Regions from separate parts of the Homo sapiens genome. Here region 1 is linked to region 2. Evidence: promoter capture Hi-C in human tissues and cell types (Jung and others, 2019). All regions are on one chromosome and are shown on one strand. The core of a region is centred on a gene start or on the middle of the fragment in contact, and the rest is flanking DNA. Distances in the headings are between cores, read along the strand shown.

The links. Contacts are between HindIII fragments. The study calls those that stand out against the background at their distance.
Region 1: a fragment that was not itself captured here is called in contact with the fragment with the promoter of NCK1 in region 2 in 1 of the 25 tissues and cell types used here (H1 embryonic stem cells).

The regions. Positions count from the first base shown.
Region 1 is chr3:137,004,236-137,009,561 of GRCh38, forward strand. The region is part of intron 6 of IL20RB (interleukin 20 receptor subunit beta); the gene reads left to right. Among named protein-coding and RNA genes, the nearest start is that of IL20RB-AS1, 25 kb to the left of the region's middle. RefSeq lists an enhancer at 2,826-3,327. The HindIII fragment of the contact is 5,327 bases long and covers 1-4,983 here.
Region 2 is chr3:136,860,124-136,865,900 of GRCh38, forward strand. NCK1 (NCK adaptor protein 1) reads left to right here and starts at 2,085. Exons shown (of 4, transcript NM_001291999.2): 1 at 2,085-2,230. It overlaps NCK1-DT (NCK1 divergent transcript), which reads right to left and starts at 1,940. Exons shown (of 3, transcript NR_110177.1): 1 at 1,624-1,940. RefSeq lists enhancers at 1,014-1,063, 1,624-1,683, 2,744-2,823, 2,834-2,953 and a silencer at 2,044-2,103. The HindIII fragment of the contact is 14,507 bases long and covers 448-5,777 here.

The sequences.
Region 1 (5,326 bases), core at 1,070-3,569, 140 kb after region 2:
ATGTCTCTGCCAGGCTTTGATATCAGGATGATGCTGGCCTCATAAAATGAGTTAGGGAGGAATTCCCTCCTTTTCTATTGATTGGAATAGTTTCAGAAGGAATGGTACCAGCTCCTCTTTGTACCGCTGGTAGAATTCGGCTGTGAATCCGTCTGGTCCTGGACTTTTTTTGGTTGTTAGGCTATTAATTATTGCCTCAATTTTAGAGCCTGTTATTGATCTATTCAGAGATTCAACTTCTTCCTGGTTTAGTCTTGGGAGGGTGTATGTGTCCAGGAATTTATCCATTTCTTCTAGATTTTCTAGTTTATTTGCGTAGAGGTGTTTATAGTATTCTCTGATGGTAGTTTGTATTTCTGTGGGATCGGTGGTGATATCCCCTTTATCATTTTTTGTTGCGTCTATTTGATTCTTCTCTCTTTTCTTCTTTGTTAGTCTTGCTAGCAGTCTATCAGTTTTGTTGATCTTTTCAAAAAACCAGCTTCTGGATTCATTTATTTTTTGACGGGTTTTTTTGTGTGTCTCTCTCTTTCAGTTCTGCTCTCAACTTAGTTATTTCTTGCCTTCTTCTAGCTTTTGAATGTGTTTGCTCTTGCTTCTCTAGTTCTTTTAATTGTGATGTTAGGGTGTCAATTTTAGATCTTTCCTGCTTTCTCTTGTGAGCATTTAGTGCTATAAATTTCCCTCTGCACACTGCTTTAAATGTGTCCCGGAGATTCTGCTACGTTGTGTCTTTGTTGTCATTGGTTTCAAAGAACATTTTTATTTCTGCCTTCATTTCGTTATTTACCCAGTAGTCATTCAGGAGCAAGTTGTTCAGTTGCCATGTAGTTGTGTGGTTTTGAGTGAGTTTCTTAATCTTGAGTTCTAATTTGATTGCATTGTGGTCTGACAGACAGTTTGTTGTGATTTCTTTTCTTTTACTTGCTGAGGAGTGCTTTACTTCCATTTATGTGGTCAATTTTAGAATAAGTGCGATATGGTGCTGAGAAGAATGTGTATTCTATTGATTTGGGGTGGAGAGTTCTGTAGATGTCTATTAGGTCTGCTTGTTGCAGAGCTGAGTTCAGGTCCTGGATATCCTTGTTAACCTTCTGTCTCGTTGATCTGTCTCATATTGACAGTAGGCTGTTAAAGTCTCCCATTATTATTGTGTGGGAGTCTAAGTCTCTTTGTAGTTCTCTAAGGACTTGCTTTATGAATCTGGGTGCTCCTGTATTGGGTGCATACATATTTAGGATAGCTAACTCTTCTTGTTGGATTGATCCTTTTACTATTATGTAATGGCCTTCTTTGTCTCTTTTGATCTTTGTTGGTTTAACGTCTGTTTTATCAGAGACTAGGATTGCAACCCCTGCTTTTTTTTCGCTTTCCATTTGCTTGGTAGATCTTCCTCCATCCCTTTATTTTGAGCCTATGTGCATCTTTGCATGTCAGATGGGTCTCCTGAATACAGCACACTGATGGGTCTTGACTCTATCCAATTTGCCAGTCTGTGTCTTTTAATTGGGGCATTTAGCCCTTTTACATTTAAGGTTAATATTGTTATGTGTGAATTTGATCCTGTCATTATGATGTTAACTAGTTATTTTGCCCATTAGTTGATGCAGTTTCTTCCTAGCGTCGATGGTCTTTGCTATTTGGCATGTTTTTGCAGTGGCTGGTACTGGTTGTTCATCTCCATGTTTAGTGCTTCCTTCAGGAGCTGTTGTAAGGCAGGCCTGGTGGTGACAAAATCTCTCAGCATTTGCTTGGCTGTAAAGAATTTTATTTCTCTTTCACTTATGAAGCTTAGTTTGGCTGGATATGAAATTCTGGGTTGAAAATTCTTTTCTTTAAGAATGTTGAATATTGGCCACCACTCTCTTCCGGCTTGTAGAATTTCTGCCAAGAGATCTGCTGTTAGTCTGATGGGCTTCCCTTTGTGGGTAACTTGACCTTTCTTTCTGGCTGCCCTTAACACTTTTTCCTTCATTTCAACCTTGGTGAATCTGACAATTATGTGTCTTGGGGTTGCTCTTCTTGAGGAGTATCTTTGTGGTGTTCTCTGTATTTCCTGAATTTGCATGTTGGCCTGCCTTGCTAGGTTGGGGAAGTTCTCCTGGATAATATCCTGCAGAGTGTTTTCCAACTTGGTTCCATTCTCCCCAACACTTTCAGGCACACCAATCAGACATATATTTGGTCTTTTCACATAGTCCCATATTTCTTGGAGGCTTTGTTCACTTTTTTTTTTAACTCTTTTTTCTCTAACCTTGTTTTCTCACTTTATTTCATTAATATGATCTTCAGTGACTGATATCCTTTCTTCCACTTGATCAAATCATCTACTGAAGCTTGTGCATGCGTCATGAAGTTCTCGTGCCATGGTTTTCAGCTCCATCAGGTCATTTAAGGTCTTCTCTACACTGTTTATTCTAGTTAGCCATTTGTCTAATCTTTTTTCAAGGTTTTTAGCTTACTTGTGATGGGTTCCAACATCCTCCTTTAGCTTGGAGAATTTTGTTATTACCGACCTTCTGAAGCCTACTTCTGTCAACTCGTCAAAGTCATTCTCCATCCAGCTTTACTCCATTGCTGGCGAGGAGCTGTGATCCTTTGGAGGAGAAGAGGTGTTCTGATTTTTAGAATTTTCAGCTTTTCTGCTCTGGTTTCTCCCCATCTTTGTGGTTATATGTACCTTTCGTCTTGATGTTGGTGACTAGAGATGGGGTTTTGGTGTAGATGACCTTTTTGTTGATGTTGATGCTCTTCCTTTCTGTTTGTTAGTTTTCCTTCTAACAGTCAGGTCCCTCAGCTGCAGGTCTATTGGAGTTTGCTGGAGGTCCACTCCAGACCGTTTGCCTGGGTATCACCAGTGGGGGCTGTAGAACAGCAAATATTGCAGAACAGCAAATATTGCTGCCTGATCTTTCCTCTGGAAGCTTTGTCGCAGAGGGGCACCTGCCTGTATGAGGTGTCTGTCAGCCCCTACTGGGAGGTGTCTCCCAGTTAGGCTACACGGGGGTCAGTGACCCACTTGAAGAGGCAGTCTGTCTGTTCTCGGAGGTCAAATGCTGTGCTGGGAGAACCACTGCTCTCTTCAGAGCTGTCAGACAGGGACGTTTAAGTCTGCAGAAGTTGTCTGCTGCCTTTTGTTCAGCTATGCCCTGTCCATAGAGGTGGAGTCTAGAGGCAGTAGGCATTGTTGAGCTGTGGTGGGCTCCGCCAAGTTCGAGCTTCCTGGCTGCTTTGTTTACCTACTCAAGCCTCAGCAATGGCAGATGCCCCTCCCCAAGCCAGGCTGCCACCTCGCAGATTGATCTCAGACTGCTGCGCTAGCAGTGAGCAAGGCTCCATGGGCATGAGACCTGCCGAGCCAGGCACGAGAGAGAATCACCTTGTCTGCCAGTTGCTAAGACCTTGGGAAAAGTACAGTATTTGGGTGGGAGTGCCCCATTTTTCCAGGTAGTCTGTCACGGCTTCCCTTGGCTAGGAAAGGGAAATCCCCTGGCCCCTTGTGCTTCCCGGGTAAGGCGATGCCCTGCCCTGCTTCAGCTCGCCCTCTGTGGGCTGCACCGACTGTCCAACCAGTCCCAATGAGATGAACCAGGTACCTCAGTTGGAAATGCAGAAATCACCCATCTTCTGCATGGCTCACACTGGGGGCTGCAGACTGGAGTGTTTCTATTCAGCCATCTTGGAACGCAATCCCACCAAGTAAAAATCTAAAGCAAAACTATATATGGAAGGAAAATTATATTAATTCTGCCCAGTATATAGTCTCTGTTTAAAAATATAATTTATTTTCTTTGTCTTGCACCTGTATTTGCTTCATGGGAATGGGTGCTTTGGTGCTGAAGGGTCTCAGTTTCCTTTCTGTGACTCACTTTATTCTTTCTCTTCTTGCTGTCACATTCTGCTGTAATGTAGGTAGCAAGCATAAAGATGGTCCCAAATTAGTAATTCTTCAATGAACCGTCCAAGTATGACCTTGCATGCTTCATAGAAAGTGGAGTTTGTGAACTCAGATGCCTCTGAGTCCACACAGGCTCTGGAAAGAAGAAAAAAAAGCAAAAGGAAAGAACTTGCAGTGCAATGAATGTAACTCAATAGGGAGGGGGATGGGGATCATGGCAAATATGTTTCATCTTCTCAGCGACAGCAGGTTGCTACCAAGAGGAAGTGTGAGCCAGTGCTGCCAGATCTCCAAGTTTTAAATGAGAAGCCCAGAAATCTAGATTTTTATGAGAAATCTCTTGATTTTTAAATGTTGAAAACTGATTCCGATTTTATAAAATATGCTGAGCTTTGCTTGAAAATTAGTTCTAAACTGTGGGACCACAGTTTTGCACCTTCCAAAATTCTGAGATTATGATGTTTGTTTTACATTAATGTGCTAGAACTGCACTGTCTAATACAGTAGCCACTAGTCATATCTGTTAGACAGTAGAAATGTGGCTCGTCCAAATTGAGATGTATTTTAAATATAAAATATGGAATGGATTTTAAAGGCAGAATAAAACAAGAATATAAAATATTTCAGTCATTTTTTAAGTGACGTGTTAAAATGATAATATTTTGGATATATTTGTTAAATAAAATATATTATTAAAATTAGTTCCACCTGTTTCTTTTTACTTTTAAAATGTGCTACGAGATTTTAAAAATTGCATATGTGATTCACATTATATTTCTATTGGACAGCACTGTTCTGGAATTTAAAAAATGATCATGTATGACCACTGCAGATGTAGGGAGTTAGTGTCCTGAGAATCTGACTGCACCAGCAGCAGCGAGCCAATGGGCTTCACACTAACACCCCCGCTTAGTGAATGCTGCTGTGTGTTGCCTCTTCCTGTTGGCATTTGCCCATGGACACCAAGAGTGAGCCTCTGTGGCTGCCTCTTTGCAAACAAGGATGAAGGGAGACTGGCTCAATGAAGCTGATGTCTCCTGAGGAACTGAGGTGGAGGAAACCATTGTGCCTATTTGTGCCCAGATGGTACCCTTGGGAGTGATGAGGAGAAGGGCCGAGAGAGATAACTGTAGAAGAACCTAGAGATTTTGGCAGAGGTGAGCAGGCGAGTAATAGGTGGGAGAGTCCACCTGAAAAGTTGATGTCTGCATGTTTATAACTAGTAATGATTGTGTACTGGGGCCACTGAAAGAAGATGGCGGGAACCTGAAATATGAGCAAGGAAGGGACTCCCATTTATGGAACATCCTCTCTGTATTGGGCACCATGCTAGGTGCTGTTCATAAAGCATCTCAGACCAGGTCATAATTCTCAGAGCTCTGTGGTGGAAGAAGGTTAGGGTTTTGTTGTTGTTGTTGTTGTTGAGAC
Region 2 (5,777 bases), core at 835-3,334:
TTTCAGTTTATGGTGGGTTTATTGGAACATAACCCCTTTGTAAGTTAAGGAACATTTATATAGTCACATTAGGAGTGAGGGCTTCAGTATGAATTTTTGGGGGGGATGCAATTCAGTCCATACCAGTCATGATAAAATATGCAGTTATTTAAACCCTTAGAATAAACTCAAAATTCACCGCCATTATTCACTTTGGATGCTAATAACAGAATGTAGACATAGAGTAGCTGTTGCCCAGTTTCATGGTCTACTTGTCCCAGTCAACCTGAGGATAGTACAGCATAAATAGGTAAATTTGTGCTTGACCTTGTGATCCTACATATGGCAGGCTGTCTTAGTCCCTTTAGTGTTGCTAGAAAGGAATACCCAAAGCTGGATAATTTAGAAATAGAAAAGGTTTTTCGGCTTATGGTTCTGATGTCTGGAAAAGTTCAAGACTGAGCATCTGCATCTGATGGTAGCCTAAGACTGCTTCTACTCATGCCAGAAGGCAAAGGAGAGCTGGTGTGTGCAGAGATTACATGGCCAGAGAGGACGCAAAAGAAGAAAGGAAGTGCGACGTTCTTTTTAACCAGCTCTGGTGGAAATAAAGAGAACTCATTTACCCTCTCCCCAGGGAGGACATTAATCTATTCCTGAAGGAACCACCTCCATGACCCAACACTGCCCATTAGTCCCCACCTCCAACATTGGGGATCAAATTTCAACAGGAGGTTTAGGGGAACAAACATCTAAATTACAGCACAGGCCAACCACATGCATGCATTACCAATCACGTAAATAATTTTGAAGTTAAATGCAGAAAACTGCAAACTTTTGAGGCTGATATCCAGGGCCAGGATTAAAATAAAAAGTATTAATGCCTTAAACAGTATTTACTGACCATCTACCCTACTGCAAGGCCCTAGGGAGAAACTGAACAGACATGGTTACTGATTCAACGGAGTTTACAATCTAGGTAGACATACAGGCAAACCATTTCAATAGCTCGGATGGAGAAAACACCTGTGCTCCAAGGAAGGTACCTAACTGAGCAAGCTTCCCTGAGGAGCGATCCTAAACTGTGCCACAAAGATGGTTAAGAAGAGATGAGGCGGCTGGGCGTGGTGGCTCACGCCTGTAATCCCAGCACTTTGGGAGGCCGAGGCTGGCGAATCACGAGGTCAAGAGATCGAGACCATCCTGGTGAAACCCCGTCACTGCTAAAAATACAAAAACATTAGCTGGGCGTGGTGGTACATGCCTGTAATCCCAGCTACTCGGGAGGCTGAGGCAGGAGAATAGCTTGAACCCGGAGGCGGAGGTTGCAGTGAGCCGAGATCGTGCCACTGCACTCCACCCTGGCGACAGAGCGAAACTCGTTTCAAAAAAAAAAAAAAAAGAGGCAGGTTACGGCGCGGGGGCGGGGAAGGGGGCCTGCAGCACCGGCGAGGGGAAGAACCAACTTACTGATGCCTCAGCCAGTGGCTGGAGCCCTAAGAATGGACAGACCTGGCTCCGAAGGTCCTCTTCATAACACTACTGCCGCCAAGAATGTAAGCTGCCCAAGCACGAGGACACTTTTAGAGGGCCCTCAGACTCAGCTTCTTTTGGTCTGTGCCTCAAATTAAGCACATGTCTTACATTTCTCCCAGGTCCCAATTTTCAGGTCTGCTTTTCTTTGTTTTTCTTTGTCGCTCCCCGCTCCTAAGAACCTTCGGCTGGGATGACATTCTTCAGGTGCAGAAACCAGGGGGAAGCTCCCAGAGCAGTGGGGGCTGAACTCAGGACACAGTCATTTTTGCTGTTAAGTCTCTCCTGCGGCGCTGAGGAGGCAGGCTCAAAGTAACCAACCAGAGCAGCCGCAGAGGGAAAAGCTAAGACAGTTCTGGTCCGGCCCAGCGCTTCTCACCCTCTAGCTCTCTACTCTCCGCCGCGCAGCCTCCGCTCCCTCCACATCAGGCACGGCGCTTGATTGACATGAGGGCCCGCCCAATCCCAGTGCGGCAGAGACCGTTGTCGCGTCAGGGACCGGGGAAGGGGGCGACTGAACCTATCAGATTGGGTCCAGAGTGGGTTTCCTGCCCGCGCGGATCCGCCTGCCCACCGCGCGTGCCCCGCCTCTCTCCCAAGAGCTACGCGGCGGCGGCGGAGCGCAGGCCTCGTGCCGTTACGGCCATCACGGCGGCCGCAGTGGCGTCCTGGAGCCCTCCTCAGGTGAGCTGGAGCTGCCCGGCTCGGCAGCGGGAAGGTGAGACGGCCTTGTTGGCAGGCAGACACACACACACCCCCCTTCAGTCCGCTGTCCGTCCATACAGCCTGTTACTCGCTGCGTCGCTTCCTCTTCTCGCGCTGAGTTAGCCCCGGGGGCGCCGTCTGCAGGCTCGGAGCCGAGCCGGAGGGGGCGCGGAGGCTGCTCGGAGGGTCCAGACTTCTGCACCGGGATTCCGCGAGACCCTCGGGCCGTTGCCCCAGGGAGCGTGACCCCGCGGCCTCCTTGTCAGCCCCTGGAGCGCTGTGTCGGGCTGAGAGCCCGGGCGGCCGCCCGTGCGAGCCTGGGAGGTCGAGTGTGCGGCGCGCTGGTTGACTTGTCTGTTTTCTCATGAAAAAGTCCTTTTGCCAGCTGTGGCGTAATCCGAGGCCGGGAAGGTAGGGACGTGGTAGGAGGAAGGGCGCTCTCACCTCCAGCCCGAGAGGAGGGGAGGCGTCAGCCTGCGCGGTGCTGCGGGTGGACATCTTCGGGACGCGCCCTCTCCCCTCCCCCCACCCACCGGCCGTTTTCTAGTCTGGGGCTGTGACTTTAATGGTCTGGACCTGCTTCAGATTCGTACGCGAGTTGCTGGGGCTGTGAACTTTTGACTTGAGTTGTAATATGTTTGGTAAAACAAAAAACCATTTCGATAGGTTTTGTAACCTTTCTTCTGTATTAACATACAAGTTAAATTCGCCGTTAGAAGCTCAGGAAGCTGGGTTTTGTTCAGGGGTGAGGACGTAACCGTAGGAACGCTCTCGGTGTCAAACTGATGGACCCGGAGTCACCTGAAAATAATTATGCACGTTAGATTAGGTAAGAAGCCCTAGAAATTAGGAAAGAATTAGGTTAAAGAGAATTTCCTAACTCCTCTTTGGGTAGGGAGCAAAGCAGCTCAATGTCCTCCCAAAACGGGTGTTGCCAAAAGGTACTCATTTTTAAAATTTTACTTTGATAGACGTATGACAAACCAACTATAACGATTTCTTCAGCACCTGGAAACCAGTGTGCCTAGACTCTCAGCCTTCGGCGAGGTCACACAGTAAACGGAGAAATAACCTAAGAAGAAAGTTTTGTTTGGTAATTGTCAATAATATTCGTTCTTTTCTTTTTAAAACACTTAATTTTCTTGTGGGGGGTGGAGTCTGTGATATTCTTAAATAGGCATCCCATTCACAACTTGATAGTAATATGCACTGGTTGATAAATGGTGCTTTCTTTTCATCTTGACCACAAACTCTGAGACTTCTTTGGGAAAATTGTGATCTGTGGAAATTGGCTGTAATATCCATAAACATAGTTTGCAGAGTGTTCACATCTACTCAGCTGTTGGCTCATGTATTAAATTTTAAAATGTGTACTTATTTTTCTAGGCATTATCTTTTGTCCAGGTTTTGACAGTGCTTTCAGGTCCATCTAAATAAAATTTGAAACCTACGTGTAATGTTTTGTTCGATACTGAGGGAGTCCAGGCGGGGTAGCTCAAACCTGTAATCCCAGCACTTTGGGAGGCTGAGGCGGGCGGATCACGAGGTCAGGAGATTGAAACCACCCTAGCAGACACGGTGAAACCCCGTCTCTACTAAAAATACAAAAAAGTAGCCGGGCGTGGTGGCGGGCGCCTATAGTCCCAGCTACTCGGGAGGCTGAGGCAGGAGAATGGCGTGAACCCGGGAGGCGGAGCTTGCAGTGAGCCGAGATCGCGCCACTGCACTCCAGCCTGGGCGACAGAGCGAGACTCCGTCTCAAAAAAATAAATAAAATGTGTATTTATTTTTCTAGGCATTATCCTTTGTCCAGGTTTCTGCAGTGCTTTCAGGTCCATCTAAATAAAATTTGAAACCTACGTGTAATGTTGGCCGGGCTCGGTGGCTCACGCCTGTAATCCCAGCACTTTGGGAGGCCGAGGCAGGCGGATCACGAGGTCAGGAGATCGAGACCAGCCTGGCCAACACGGTGAAACCGCGTCTCTACTGAAAATACAAAAATTATCCGGGCGTGGTGGCACGCACCTGTAATCCCAGCTACTCGGGAGTCTGAGGCAGGAGAATTGCATGAACCCGGGAGTCGGAGGTTGCAGTGAGCCAAGATCGCCACTGCACTCCAGCCTGGCAACAGAGCAAGATTCCGTCACACACACACAAAAAAAAAACAGAAACAAAAAAAACCTATGTGTAATGTTTTGTTAGATACTGAGGGAGACCAGGCGGGGTAGTTCAAGCCTGTAATCCCAGCACTTGGGAGGCCAAGGCGGGAGGATAGCTGGAGGCCAGGAGTTTGAGATCAGCCTAAGCAATGTAGTGATACCCTGTCTCTAAATTAAGAAAATATAAAAAAATTTAAAAAGGAAAATAATAAAGAAAAGAGATACTTAGTGATACTTCATGGTTCTGGGTTTTTTTCTTTTCTTTTTTTTTTTTTTTTTTGAGACAGAGTCTCTGTTGCCCAGGCTGGAGTGCAGTGGCACGATCTTGGCTCACTGCAACCTCTGCCTCCCGGGTTCAATCGATTCTTGTGCCTCGGCCTCCTAAGTAGCTGGGACTACAGGTGTGTGCCACCATGCCTAGCTAATTTTTTTGTATATATATATATTTTTCTTTTTCTTTTGTTTGTTTTTTTTTTTGAGACGGAGTCTCACTCTGTTGCCCAGGCTGGAGTGCAGTGGCGGGATCTTGGCTCACTGCAACCTCTGCCTGCCGGGTTCAAGCAATTCTCTGCCTCAGCCTCCCCAGTAGCTGGGATTACAGGCGCCTGCCACCACGCCTGACTAATTTTTGTATTTTTAGTAGAGGCAGGGTTTCACCATCTTGGCCAGGCTGGTCTTGAACTCCTGACCTCGTGATCCACCTGCCTCGGCCTCCCAAAGTGCTGGGATTACAGGCATGAGCCACCACGCCCGGCCTGTATTTTTAGTAGAGACGGAGTTTCACCATGTTGGCAAGGCTGGTCTCGAACTCCTGACCTCAAGCAATCTGCCCACCTCCGCCTCCCAAAGTGCTGAGATTACAGGTGTGCGCCACCGTGGCTGGCCTATATTCATTTTTCAAAAATTTTCTAGAGTTTTACATTTTCATTGCTTTGTACTTTTACTTTGTCTTATTTTACTTTTTCACCATGTGTTTTTCAAAGCTGAAGGTATATTTGATGTGATTATTATAAATCACTTGTCAGGAAGACTTGACTTAATGAATACAGATACAGTTCATTTTTAAAATCATGGTTTAATAATTTTTAGAATTTACCTTTATAATATAGAAAAATACCAAATGTTCTTTATCTGCACTAGAAAATTAAATGATTATTTCATTAATAAGTAAAATTGAAGGGAACTTTTGAAATCACTGAGCAGTTAACAAATTCTCTATAAATACTGTGATGTTAGGAAGACAACAAGGCTAAATATGACATTTAAAGATTTAAGGAAACTTTATGTCTGGCTGATCCTCACCTTAAACTCTAATGAAGATAGAATTTATAGTCTTCCCTTCAAAACTGATTCCATATGCTGACTTTGTTTTGGTGACATTACCATGCTTTCAATTACCCA